2 separate regions of the Homo sapiens genome follow, and region 1 is linked to region 2. Evidence: promoter capture Hi-C in 16 types of primary human blood cells and fetal thymus (Javierre and others, 2016). All regions are on one chromosome and are shown on one strand. The core of a region is centred on a gene start or on the middle of the fragment in contact, and the rest is flanking DNA. Distances in the headings are between cores, read along the strand shown.

Region 1 (6,871 bases), core at 3,279-5,778, 81 kb before region 2:
ACCTGGAGGGAGCGGTGGCAGCTGCCCTGCTGTGTGTGACTGCACCTCCCAGCCCCAGGCTGTGCTCTGTGGCCACAGGCAACTGGAGGCTGTACCTGGAGGACTCCCACTGGACACTGAGCTCCTGGACCTGAGTGGGAACCGCCTGTGGGGGCTCCAGCAGGGAATGCTCTCCCGCCTGAGCCTGCTCCAGGAATTGGACCTCAGCTACAACCAGCTCTCAACCCTTGAGCCTGGGGCCTTCCATGGCCTACAAAGCCTACTCACCCTGAGGCTGCAGGGCAATCGGCTCAGAATCATGGGGCCTGGGGTCTTCTCAGGCCTCTCTGCTCTGACCCTGCTGGACCTCCGCCTCAACCAGATTGTTCTCTTCCTAGATGGAGCTTTTGGGGAGCTAGGCAGCCTCCAGAAGCTGGAGGTTGGGGACAACCACCTGGTATTTGTGGCTCCGGGGGCCTTTGCAGGGCTAGCCAAGTTGAGCACCCTCACCCTGGAGCGCTGCAACCTCAGCACAGTGCCTGGCCTAGCCCTTGCCCGTCTCCCGGCACTAGTGGCCCTAAGGCTTAGAGAACTGGATATTGGGAGGCTGCCAGCTGGGGCCCTGCGGGGGCTGGGGCAGCTCAAGGAGCTGGAGATCCACCTCTGGCCATCTCTGGAGGCTCTGGACCCTGGGAGCCTGGTTGGGCTCAATCTCAGCAGCCTGGCCATCACTCGCTGCAATCTGAGCTCGGTGCCCTTCCAAGCACTGTACCACCTCAGCTTCCTCAGGGTCCTGGATCTGTCCCAGAATCCCATCTCAGCCATCCCAGCCCGAAGGCTCAGCCCCCTGGTGCGGCTCCAGGAGCTACGCCTGTCAGGGGCATGCCTCACCTCCATTGCTGCCCATGCCTTCCATGGCTTGACTGCCTTCCACCTCCTGGATGTGGCAGATAACGCCCTTCAGACACTAGAGGAAACAGCTTTCCCTTCTCCAGACAAACTGGTCACCTTGAGGCTGTCTGGCAACCCCCTAACCTGTGACTGCCGCCTCCTCTGGCTGCTCCGGCTCCGCCGCCACCTGGACTTTGGCATGTCCCCCCCTGCCTGTGCTGGCCCCCATCATGTCCAGGGGAAGAGCCTGAAGGAGTTTTCAGACATCCTGCCTCCAGGGCACTTCACCTGCAAACCAGCCCTGATCCGAAAGTCGGGGCCTCGATGGGTCATTGCAGAGGAGGGCGGGCATGCGGTTTTCTCCTGCTCTGGAGATGGAGACCCAGCCCCCACTGTCTCCTGGATGAGGCCTCATGGGGCTTGGCTGGGCAGGGCTGGGAGAGTAAGGGTCCTAGAGGATGGGACACTGGAGATCCGCTCAGTGCAGCTACGGGACAGAGGGGCCTATGTCTGTGTGGTTAGCAATGTCGCTGGGAATGACTCCCTGAGGACCTGGCTGGAAGTCATCCAGGTGGAACCACCAAACGGCACACTTTCTGACCCCAACATCACCGTGCCAGGGATCCCAGGGCCTTTTTTTCTGGATAGCAGAGGTGTGGCCATGGTGCTGGCAGTCGGCTTCCTCCCCTTCCTCACCTCAGTGACCCTCTGCTTTGGCCTGATTGCCCTTTGGAGCAAGGGCAAAGGTCGGGTCAAACATCACATGACCTTTGACTTTGTGGCACCTCGGCCCTCTGGGGATAAAAACTCTGGGGGTAACCGGGTCACTGCCAAGCTCTTCTGACCTTTCCTTCCCCAGTGGGGAACCCACCAAGTCCGCTTCAGATACCAAAGGGGAAGACAGAACCAAGGCTGCTTGAACCAGAACCTAGTCCCGAGCAGCACCGCTCTCCTGCACCTCCCGCCTGCGTTGTGCCTCCTGCCGGAGAGTCTGCTTCCTGAGCTTTTCCGGTCTGAGGATAGCATTGTCATTTCTTCTCTGAGGGTCCCAGGGAGCTGCAGATGCAGACCCCGTCGTTAGTCCAGCCCCTGCTTCACCCCCTCCACACACAAAACAGGAAACATAATCAAAGCGCTAGTCAGCTAGTCTAACCACTAGGCTTTCTTCACACATGCTTATATCCTTTAATAACCAATTGCCAACCACGGCTATAAGATTATTTCAGAGGTGGGGCTGGGAAGTGCCACTTGCTCCTTAGAGTCTGTTTGTCAACCAGGCAGAGTCCCTTTCTTTTCTGCTCCCCACCCCAACCCTGCCCCTATGTACAGGAATAAGAGCAAAGGACCCACAGGCTACAGAGAAGAGGATGGGGACAGAGTGTGGGATGGAGAGGACAGACCATATACTGCACTGTGTTTGCATGAGCCTCTACCACCTTCCTCTATCTACCAGATCATTAAACCTGCTGTCAAAGGGCCACAACAGTAGCAGCCAAAACTAAATGTCATCTCTGGAGTTTTCTTTACTTCAGTCTATTTCCTACCCTCATTTCTGTTATATCTCCCCAGCTCCTTCTCTTTCTGCTTGCCCATTGATTATGTGTCCCAATGGCATTGCCTCCATCTAACCTGCCTGACAAACAGGGTAAGGAGTGCCCCTCCCACCTTCACTTTCCTCACCGCCCTGCACCCCCACCTCCATGCCCGGAGGGATCAGCACTCCTAGCCCCGGTTTCAGCCTCAATCCTTTCCCTTTCACTCCCCATCTCTGGAACTGGAGAAGGAGCGATCCTCTACCTTCCAGGGGACCCCTACATAGAAATTCCACCTGGGACACCCAGTTGCTGCCTCTCTTTCCCATTTCTCCATGGGAGCTCCTCATCATTTTTGCGTCACAGATCCCTAGTGCCCTTGGGGAAAACTCAGAACTCCAAGATAATGACTAACAAACACAAGAATCCGCAGTTGTCAAAGGAGAGAGACCCAGGACACTGCAGAGACTAGGCTTGGAGGAACAGGGAGGAGGGCACAGCAGGCTGTAGTGAGAAGTGGAGGGAAGGGGGAACAGCAGTAACTGCCTGCCTAGTTAATTTCCACCATCCTTCTGCAGCTTCCTCTGGTTCTGTGCTTAGTGCAGCCCCAGTGGGAAGCTGTCTCCGGGTAGAGGTCACTGATTTACAGAGACCCCCAGATGGGGAGGTGGAGTAGGAGGTGAAACTGCTGAGTACCACTGACTGTGCTTCAAATAGAGGGCAAAGCAGAGCCCAAAAAGAAGTAGAGATGCTGGAAGCTCAAGGAACAGAGCAACAGCCTCAGCATCACTGGAAGGGAGGAGTGACAGGGAGAGGAGAGGAGTCGGAGGAGGGACTGAGAAGGGAAGAATCACGTGGCCCTAGGGAGCCTTTCTGCGCAGTAGCATCTACCCAGCGTCCTTAGTTTCCTCCCACCCACCCCTACACCAAACCAGATGCAAGCATTGTGAGCTTTCTAGTTGATTCCTGCTGCTGTTGTCCTTGCTCTGAGGAGACTCCACTCATTAGAAGATTCCCAGCTCAAACTGCCCGACAGATGAGACACTCAGAGCCACTGAGGAGGTGAAGCTGGACTTCACAGGCAGGCCGCTCTTTAGTGGGGCAGAGATAGGAATATGGGGGTAGTACCAGAGGTGAATGTGAGAACCAGGCAGACAGGAGAGTGGGGCTGGAGAAACTGACCTGCTTGAGAAACGAGTTTCCCTGAGCCTGCAACCTCCCCACCCACCATGCACACACAACTCAATCAGCATCCCAGCAACTTCCCCTTCTTTAGTGTATAATGTACCAGACAGATTTCCTGGGGCACAGCCCTCCCGCTCCTTTCCATAACCTTCCACCAGCAGCTTATTAGGTTGGGACTTGGGAGTCAGACGCTGAAGGTTCTCACTCTAGTTGCCCTCTCTGCAATGCGGAAGCAGCAATGCTGTTCAGAGAAATCTTCTCTGGGAAGCCCCTGACGCTCTGGGGAACAGATGACTGTCTGGTGCTGGGACATGCTGCTGCCCAAGGTCTCTGAAGTCTCAAAGTCTCCAGAGCAGAGCTACCCAACAGACACAGAATCTAAGTCACACATGTAATTTCAAATTTTCTAGTAGCTACTAAATTAAAAAATCAAAATGAAACGGATACATTTAAATACTTACTTTATTTAACCCAATATACCCAAACTATTATCATTTCAATATATTATCAATATAAAAATCAATCATAAAATATTTAACATTTTTTCATATTAGGTCTTTAAAATCCAGTGTATATTTTACACTTACAGTACATCTCAACATCGCAATTCAGTTACTAAATTTTCACCAGAAAAATCTATATTTCATACAGGTCACTGTTGAGAAAGTGGATTCACACATCTAAGTTTTTTCAAACATAAAACATTTTCCAATAACTGAATCGAATCTCTGTCTTAAATTTTAAATTAAACAAATTTAAAATTCCATTCCTCAGCTGTACCACCTACCTTTACAAGCATTCAATAGCCACATGTGGCCAATGGCTACCATATTGGACAGCAAAGCTTCAGACATTGCAACCTGGCGTATAGACTAAGGTCTCCTTGGCAGTGGTGGGTGGACAAAGTATCCCTCAAGAAACACATTTAATCTCAAGGAAATGCCTATGGAGTTAGTCCCACCACAGCCCCTTAGTCTCCTTTCACAGCTTTACCAGAACACTTTTGAGGGGTGAAGCCCATTCAGGAAACAAGCTTACTATGATGAGCACTTCCACAGCTTGTCCAAGCGTTAGCATGCCAGTCCCTCATCTTACCTGTCGGGAAGACTGCCCTCAGCTCAGCTGTGATGGCACAGGCTGCTGTGTGTGTGCTGATGAGTGTGCAAATGCAGCCAAGGACATGAGTGGGTGGTGTGTATGCAGAAGTTTTGTGGCCCATGTGCAGGGATGTATGGTACCACATCATGGGGACAATCTAATGGAGGCTCTGCCCAGGGTGGGACAGCAGTTCAAAGAGAAGAAAATAACATTTATTGAGGGCCTATTCTATGTCAGTGGCTTTATATATATTTTCTTATTTAATCCTTACATCAACCCTATAAAGTAGAGAGGCATCTTAGCTGGTGAAACTAAAGGTCAAAGAGAGTAAGTGCTCAAGTGCACAGAGCTAGTTAGTAAATAGTAACTAGCTATTTGAGCTCATGGCTGTCTGATTGAAAACTCCCCCTTTCCACCACACTGCCATCCTCACTGCCATGCCCTCACGGCTCTCTCTCCCAGGGCCTTTCAGTTGCAGGACACGACCTGTAAGAAAGGAGAAATCTTCCAATGCATCCACTCTGAACTTTCAGTGGGGACTGGGCTAAGTTATTGGTCCTTACATTCTTCATTAACTCTAATGCACCTGATTCAGGATGTTGGGGTTTTTCTTTGTTTTTACTCTTTCTTCTCAGTCCCCTCTCCCAATGTCCTTACAGCCTCTGCCTCAGGGACTGATAGAAAGGAGCAGAAATTCCAGGGAGTAAATGGACTTCAGTGAAATGCCTGGCTTCCAGCAAAGGATTCTCTGAAATGGAGGCTTCACATTTCCTAGTTCTTTTCTGGGTTCTAACCTCAACAACCTCCTAGGTTAGAGAGAGGTTGCACAGATTGGTGGAACAATCTGTGAGCTACTTCAGATTGGAGAAGAATTTGACTCTGCCTACCTTCTGCCTACCCCTGCTTGACAGAACCTTTCTGAGGACATTCCATCCTGCTCTCCTTCTACCCCTCTCTCTTCCATCTCAGACATGGTCTTACCTAAGCTGAGAGAGAACTCTGGACCCAAAGATGCTGTGGCACCATCTCAGCACTTCACATTTCCTTCCCCCATACAATCTTTCTCTATTTCTGACTTCTATTTCCTGTGCTGTGCTGGATCCCTGATTCAGGAGATGAGAGCCCGGCTAAGCAATGATCCTCAACTTTTTTTGAGTCACAGATCCCTCTGAGAATCCCTGATGCAAGCTGTGAACAAAAATGTTTGTAAATTATCCAGTTATTCTGAAGCCATCACAGACTCCATAGAATATAGGTTAAAAATTCTGCTATAAGAAGCCACAGGTTGCAGCAGAAACTGAGGCCTCAGGCCACCTTTGCTCCCCAGGGTCCATTAGAGGCAAAGAGAAAAGGCTGAGAAGGACTACCGTTCAAAGTGGATGTTAGCACAGGTAAGAGCAGGTATTACAATGGGCCCAGCAAGAAAACACACAAAAATGCTCCATCATTCTCTCCTCCCCTGTCCCCTTCTCCCACCAGCACCCATCTGAGGGAGAGGCAAGAGACTTTGGGTGGAACTCTTGCTGTAAGAAGTCAGTACGGTGGTGACTCAGGCTGGAGAGTATCTGAAAACAGGGACTCCTGGGTCCTGTTCCTCCAAATTGCTTCGTAAGGGGAATTAAGTAGGAAGATAGAGCTGGGTGGTGGTGGTCAGAGAGGCTGAGGAGAATTCTTTCCTAGGGCATCTGCCACAATTAAATCTGGCCTAAAGATTGAATAGTAGCACCAGCATAAGTGAGGACACTAAGGCTCTGCTCCCAGTCGCTGGTTTCTGGTGAAGAGGCTTAAGTGGGGAGGAGGGGGTGACTCCTACGATGGGCAACAGGAGAGATGAGTGCTGTTTTTCAGACTCAGACAGCTGAACAGCACTTGAATGAATCATTCGTATGTTGTACAGGGAAGGAACTCTGTGGGCAGCCAAGGCTCCGGAGCCAGGCTCCTTGTATTTCAGAGCCCCTCACTGCCCAGATCCCTAGCTAAGATCTTCTTTCCTGCTTCAGTTTACTAAAGGGAACACCTGCTCACTGAACCCTCTGGGAAACCCAGAACTTATCTTAACTCACTCCACCTAATGCCTCCCACAGCCTGTTCAGAACACCCTTCAGGGAAAGAGAATAGACTCTTAGGACTGGAGATGAGAATAAAGAAATTACAATTCACTCAATCCCAGCATCTCACAATTCAAT
Region 2 (7,297 bases), core at 3,045-5,544:
TCAAACAACGTGGAAGCACCCCAGAACATAGAGTGAGCTGAGTTCTGCAAAGGAAGGAACGTTCTGTCCGACTAAAGATGCTGGAAAGGACCTGGGGGACATTCTGCCAGAATTTCCCCCTCTTGGACTGACTTTTTTGTGTAGATTAACTTTCTCTTCACCCTGGGCTCCTCATAAATTCTAAATTATTTTATTCCACTCCCAACTGAATACGGGAGGAGAAAGGGAATTTGGTCTTCAAGATTTGTTCTTCTAGTATCTAATTAAGAAGAGAAAGTGAAACATAAAGCCAGAGAGCTGAAAATAGCCACGAGAAAGGGCATGAGCCTGTCTGTCAATACACACATGCCGAGCTCCTACCCCCACAGAGATCGTGCTCAGCAGAGGCCTTCTGAGAAGCAGGAGAAAAAAGGGAGGCTGTCTTTTCAGATTTGTGAACAACTGCCCTAAGGAGCAAGAAAATACCATGAGAAACAAGCTCAGCATTAGGCCCTGGCCGTGGAGGGGTTATCATTGGTCTGCTTCTGTCCTTTCCAGCAAAGACTGAGGAAAAGAAGTGAAAGTGTTGGCAGTTCCCAAGCCAGGGAAAACCACAAGAAGTAAATTAGGTAGTGGGCTACAAGCCACTTCCCAGGAACCCCATCTTGGTTAGTGATCATTTTGGTTGATTGTCTTTTTTTAAGAGAGAGAGTTAATAGAGTGAGAGAGAGATAAGCTGCCATCTGTCAGAAGTGATTTTTTTTTTCCCGGCAGGAGCAAGAGGTTAACCAGAGATAATGGTTCCTCTTGGCCAAGATCTGTCTTTTCTCCCCATACTCCCTCCAGAGAAGCTGGTGGTGGCACCTCCAGAGCTGTGCCAGCCAGTACAGTCACCACAAGCCACCTGTGGCTCTTGAACACTTGAAAAGTGGCTGTAGGTGTTAAATGTGCAGCAAATATAAAATACACACAGGATTTTGAAGGCTTGGTATGAAAAAAATCTCATTAATAACATGTAATTGATTTACATGTTGAAATAGTATTTTGGATATATCAGGTTAAATAACATTTATTATTAAAAGTAATTTCTCTTGTTTCTTTTTGCTTTTATATATGGCTACTAGACATTTTTAAACCATATATGTGGCTTGTATTATATTAGACAATGCCAGAGCCTGGACCAGCAAACCTACACACTCAAACACACACAGGCATGCACAGTGTTCTCTACCTCCCCACCTCCAAGTAGGAAATGATTGATACCCTCCGTCTGCCAATCTGTGATCTTCTTGTGCTTTGATAATCAATCAAGCCTTTCTTCACTGATCACATCCTATGACCCAAATGCCCATGTATGAGAGGGGCTACTTTTTGTTTTTTTAACAGCGTCTCAGTACTCACTATTATGTATTGTGTTGGCCTGTCTTACCTTCCACTTGAGGTGGAAGCCACTTGAGGGCAGGAAGGTTATAGAATCAATTCTTTGTGCACTCTCATAAATTCTGCTGCAGATGTCTTCACTCTGTATTCAATCAGGGAAGCCAGTAAGTACTTCATGACTAGCCACTCTGCCCACACATACCACCACATTTTGCCCTTTCTGAAAAATATCCCAATTATCCAGCATTTCTCATTTCCTAAGAATCTAAAGCCAGGATCAGAGCTCTCCCTTTATAAATTCAATAATCTTTTTATGTAGGGCAGCCTAGCTTTGACTGCAGAGGAATAAAAAAGAGGGTGAGCTTGGGGGTGGTGGGCAGAGAAAGTATCCTGGAAGCCTCTCTCTCTCCTAGAGAGAAACTTTCCAGAATAGGCATCTGAGTCTCAGGGCTCCCCTGCCTTTACCTCACAGGACTCCCATCCCATGGCCTGAAAGAACACCAGAGATGTGTTCACCGTCACTCAGCAAGGAGAGTCTGATGAGTGGTACAACTCTTCTCCTCTAAACCCTGCCTCTTCTCTCAGACTGACACCTTTGGGGACCACAAACTAAGCAAAGGACTGGACGCATTTTGCTGTCTGCAGCTGTCTCCCCAATTACTGACTGGGAGGAGGAGTGAGGGGAGTTCATTTTAATTCATTTTTGTGAATGTTTAATATTTCAATTAATATGATTAGCCCCAAGCCTGAATGAGCAGCAGGGCGGCAGATCTGCTGAGAAGACATAGAGTAATGAGATCAACAGGGCCATAGGGTCTTCCCCTTCTCCATCCTCAGAGGACATGATCTGTTTAGCATCTCCATAAATACCAAGATCAGATTAGAAGGCAAGGAAAGGAGCAGTGGGGGTGGGGTAGGTGAGTGGAAAGTTACTTTCAAGATGTGTGTGCCCTTCTTGATTCCCTGGCTCTGCCGTCATTCGCTTCTTCTGAGCACCCACCACTGAGTCCTCTAGCACCTCCCCCCACTGCCACCCCATCTTAGGGGACCCTACTTGGGGGACCCGGGCATCCATGTGATGAAGTGTAATCAAGTCTACACACATACACATTCACTCAAATGCAAGCACCTGCCAGAGCGTGGCTCCAGGCCACAACAAAAAAACAGGCTAAGGAAGGATGGGAGGTGGTCCACAGAATCAAGCAGTAAAAAGAAAGACTCTCTCTCATCCAGGGCTTAAATGGAGACAGAAGAGGAAGAAAGGCCAGACTTCACCACTGCTCCCATTCTCAAGAGGAATGTTTGATGTGGGAGTTAAATGCGTGGACTCAGGAGCCAGACTGCCCAGGCTCCAGTCTCAGCTAGACCTCTTTCTAGCTGCATGGCTTTAGGCAAGTTATTTCAGCTCTGTGTCTTGGTTACCTCCTCTCTATTTGGAGATGACAAAATCTACATCATAGGGGGGTGGTGAGGGTTTAGGAGTTAGTAAATATAAAGCACTTGGCACAAAGCCTGGGACACTGTAAGAGCCATGTAAGCACTGGCTGTTACTATTATTTCCCTTCCAGAAGAGAAGCCTGCCTGCCGTGATAGCTCAGGAATGGAGGCCCCTGGGACTCAGCTGGGACACAGTTTAGAGACACGAGTGCCTCTGTGGAAACAGCAGCCCTACCCCGGGGGAGAAGAAGGGAATGACAGGAAGACAGGGTGCTCTACAAAAGCCCAGAGCCCCAGGAGAGCCCCCGTTGCTGAGCACTGACAGAAAGCAAGGGCTACCACCACTGACAAGGTTTGATGTCCACAGATAATCCCTGCACTGAGGGCGTGCTCTGAGTGGGCCCAGTGCATGGAGGGGTCACGCTCCCTCCAGATCGTGGAGCCTGCCAATCATCCATAGAAGTATCCATGGTCAGGGGAGCAATGGTCCCCGAATGTGCCTCCCCTGCTCTTCTGTGCTACCTGGCTCAATTTGAGTCCAACTCAAAGAACCCAACTGAAGAAAGAAGCAAAGGAAAGAGTAATTGGGTTTCTGCATCCTAAGGGGAAGCTTGACAGCTGTGGTTCTTCCCACTGAAGGAATCAGGAATCCACTGTTGTCAGAGGTTGTTTGCATGGAGTGTTTGTTAAGCTCCTGCTACGCATGAGCAAGACAGGGTGCTAGACACTGTGAACAGTAAGATGCTGAATTAAACGGTGTCCTGGTCTTCAAGGAGCTTACAAGTGAGAGCGCCCGCGGCGCCGCCTCCGCGGCCTCCCTGCCCACGCACTTATACACACAAACCCCCCAGAGGGAGAGAAGGGGGCATCGGCAAATGCCAGAAAGCTATCGTTTTTCTTGGTTCCTTTTCTGGAAAATATACAGTTCTCTTTCTGCATTCTTCTCATCCTGCTCCTCCTTCTCCACGTCCCTTTCCATTTTTCCTCTCTGCATTTTTTCTTTTTCCCCCAGACTCTGCGACCTGCTTCCCTCTCCATCTATATCTCCTTTCCCTTCAGCCTATGCAACCGTCCTTTCTCATTTTTCTTTCCCCTGATTTCTTTCCTTGACTCTCTACTCTTGGGGCTCCCCAGATGCCGGGCTCCCCTCTTTCCCCGCCACCCCCCATCTGCTGAGTCTTCCAGCACCGGGGACAGCTCCAGCCCCCGGAACAATGGACCCCACTTTAGGGTTCCTCTATAAATTCTCCATCTTAGTGCTTTGCCCAACTCCTGACTGGGGAGTAAGATGGGGGAAGGGTTATTATCAACAGGACCAGCTGCTCTTCTGGGGGCGGGAAGGGAGTCAGGGAGGATGGAGATAGAAAGAGGGCGTGGCTCGTGCCTGGATTGTGCGTCCCTCTCCAGGGTAGAGAATTTGTATTCGACCCCTGAGACTGACATCACTGATGTCAGGGGAAAGGAGGTGGGAGTGGGGAGGGGGGTGTGGAGGGGGGAGGTTTTTGTTGAGGAGAGCGCGGCCGGAGAGCAGAGCTCCGGGACCCAGGTGACCGGGAAAGCAGGCAGCCCCAGCGGCGGGAGCAGCCGGCAGCAGCCCAGGCCCGGGGACTGGGGTGGGGGTGGGAGGGGGGCTGAGGGGAGGACCTGAAGGGGGGCGGCAGGGCAAAAGGGACCCCTGGAGCCCTGCCGCCATCAGAGATCAAGCATCTGGCATCAGGGATCTTCGGACCCAGCAGAAGGATCCGCCACAGGGGAGGTGTCCTCCCAGGGAAGCCAACGAGAGATTCACCTGCCCCACATCAGGAGTGGGCCCCCCTTACTGACGCTGCTGGCAACCATAGCAGGCCCCTTAACCCCTCAGTCTCCTCCCCATCACCCTCCTCAGGCCCTTTCCCCGCCTCCAGCTCTCATCTCAACTCCCAGTTCCCAGCCCTCTAAGCCCTAGCACCCCCGGCTACCACCTAACCCTCCAGGTCTTGGCCATACTCACCCCCATCCTGGGACATTTGCCAGATCTCTGGGAGGGAGATCGTTTGTTTAGGCGATGCCCCCTGGTGGCATGACAGCGTCTGCCTAGACCCCTGACCCCTAGCACTCAACTCCCTGGGCCTCCTTTGTGTGAAGAGCCGCCCCTCTGCTTAGCAGCGTGGTTGGGGGCCAAAGGGAAAGCCAGCCCCAGCTGGGCCCCCGGGCCCCACCACTTATCTCCTTGCTGGGCAGCTCCCCTTGGCCTTTGGGCCTCTCCCTGCTCCCCTCGGCCCCTCCTCCTGGGCCGCCTCAATGAAGGAGCCGGATGCCATCAAGCTGTTTGTGGGGCAGATCCCGAGGCATCTGGAGGAGAAGGACCTGAAGCCCATCTTCGAACAGTTTGGTCGGATCTTTGAGCTGACTGTCATCAAGGACAAGTACACCGGGCTGCACAAGGGTGAGGGGTCGGGCAGGCTGAAGAGGCTTCGGGGTGGGCTGGGAGGCTGGGGGAAGTTAAGCCAGGCTGGAGGGGTGGAGCGGCTGGGAAGGGCTGATGTGGAAGGAGAAGAGTTCAGGCCTGAGGAAAGTGGATGGAGGAGCTGAAAAAGAACTCAGCTAGAGTGATCAGGAAACCCCGGTGAAGGACTAAGGAGGGCCTCTTTTGGCTGAAGAGTTGTCAAGACGGCTGCAAAGATGTGGATCCCAGACATATGGGTGTGTTGATGTCATGGGATGAACTCAAGAAAGAATGGAGGGACAAGAGAGCTGGTTTGGGAGATAAGCAGCTGGGTAGGGGTGTGTGTGTGTGTGCGTGTGCAGCAAGACTGAGAATCTGAGCAGCCTCAGATAATATTGGGATGGGGGTCAGGACACAGGGTCAGGTGTTCAATGTGGAAAGCGTGGAGCTGGACTGGGCAGGGCAGCTCCAGGACTAAAGAGAGGGACTAGGAAGCAGGGCATGAAGGCTGGAGATTGGTAAAGATCTGGAAAGTGTGGGAGGCTTAGAAAGTTAAGAGAGTGGGGGAGAAGGGAGGGTGCTCCTCAGGCCTATCCAAGGGCTGTGCGGCTAAGTGGGGGCGGTCAGGGTCAGCACTTGGAGAGCTCCACACACCGGGGATCCCAGGGGCCACACCAGCTCCCCCTCCACCTGGCACAGGGAAGAGGCACTTCCGGCTAACTAACTGTTCTTCCCTTCCCTTCTCTATTTCACTCTCCGTCCTCCACCTGCCTATGGTGGAGGTGGGGAGAGATGAGGAAATAGGGAAAATGGGAGAAGAGAGGGATGATGGTGATCAAGATGGAGGGAGGTGGAGGTGAGGGAGAGAGGGGAAAGGAGAACAGCTCAGCAGGAGAGAAAGCCACACTACTCTTACTTGTCTGGCGGTCACATGGTCCTTCTCTCCCTACACAAAGCCCATCTCCTGACAGCCCAAGTGTCCTCCCTCTCCCATCACCACCAGTATTTAGGCCTCCAGGTGTCTGCCCCACTTCTGGGGCAGAGAGTCTACCCCTTGGAGACACCTCTCTACCCCAGCAGGCAGAAGATGACAAGAAGGGAAAGCTTCCCAGTCGTCAGTCTTTGGAAGGGAGCCTTTCAGAGAGGGGAGATGGAGGACTCACCCCCCGCCGTGTTTCTCTGCCCCTGCCCCTCCTCAGGATGTGCCTTCCTGACATACTGTGCCCGGGATTCAGCCCTGAAGGCCCAGAGCGCCCTGCACGAACAGAAGACGCTTCCAGGGGTGAGTCCTGCCCTTTGCAGGGCCAGGGGACTGAGAAGGGCCATAGAAGTGGCAGGAGGCTCACCACCCTCCTGACACTGAGCATAATTTCCACCTCCTCTCATCACCAGGAAGTCCCCCTCTCTCTCTGTAGCATCCATCTTTCTTGCTGTAGATGCATGCATTTCTTGTTACCTGGAGAGAAGGAAAGCAGCGATTAGTGGCGTAAACATGACTTTTACCAGGAGCAGATGCAGCCCCTTCCCCACTTCCCAAGCTGCCCATGGGGCAACACTAGAGGGAGGACTCGCTGGTTGGAAGGTGTGGGGAAAAGTCTCTGGACACCAAGTGTGGATCAGGGTGAGCAGGGGGCACCCAGGCACTCTTTTGTCACTCTGGAAAGGCAGGCTGGGTGGCTGTGAGATGAGGGAGGAGTGCCCAGAGAACAGGCAGCTGGTGCCGGCTAGATTGGCATCTCGGTGCTGGTTCTTGAGCTCTCATCTCCCTTCTGTCTCCCAGGAAGAGTCCCAGGAACAGAGCCACAGAGCATCAGGGTAGAGCAGGGCCTGGGCAGGCCTGGGCAGGTCTGGGCTGGAGGTAGGCCTGGAAGTAGCAGGCAAGGGCAGGGACAGACATTGTAGAGGATCAGGCCTGATGCCACCAGGTATGCCCAGGGAGGCAGGGGTGGCCTCAGAGGTGGCCCCTCTCCTGCAAGGTCCTATCTCTTTGTGTCTTCTTCCCAGCCAGCCTTGCTGATTGTCCCAAGCCCTTCCATGGCCTCAACCTTTGAGTACTGCTAGGAAAGCAAAGCCAAC

What was found. Contacts are between HindIII fragments. The CHiCAGO score rates a contact against its expected background, and 5 or more counts as called.
Region 1: a contact is called between a fragment that was not itself captured here and the fragment with the promoter of CELF3 in region 2, in 2 of 17 cell types (erythroblasts and M1 macrophages). The highest score is 5.8, in erythroblasts.

What each region holds. Positions count from the first base shown.
Region 1 is chr1:151,795,766-151,802,636 of GRCh38, reverse strand. It overlaps LINGO4 (leucine rich repeat and Ig domain containing 4), which reads left to right. Exons shown (of 2, transcript NM_001004432.4): 2 at 1-2,373. The coding sequence ends at 1,714. Among named protein-coding and RNA genes, the nearest start is that of LINGO4, 6.2 kb to the left of the region's middle. The HindIII fragment of the contact is 189 bases long and covers 4,434-4,622 here.
Region 2 is chr1:151,713,800-151,721,096 of GRCh38, reverse strand. It overlaps CELF3 (CUGBP Elav-like family member 3), which reads left to right and starts at 4,294. Exons shown (of 13, transcript NM_007185.7): 1 at 4,294-5,221; 2 at 6,421-6,503. The coding sequence starts at 5,077. It also overlaps a transcript of RIIAD1 not described here. RefSeq lists an enhancer at 4,070-4,364. The HindIII fragment of the contact is 2,919 bases long and covers 3,409-6,327 here.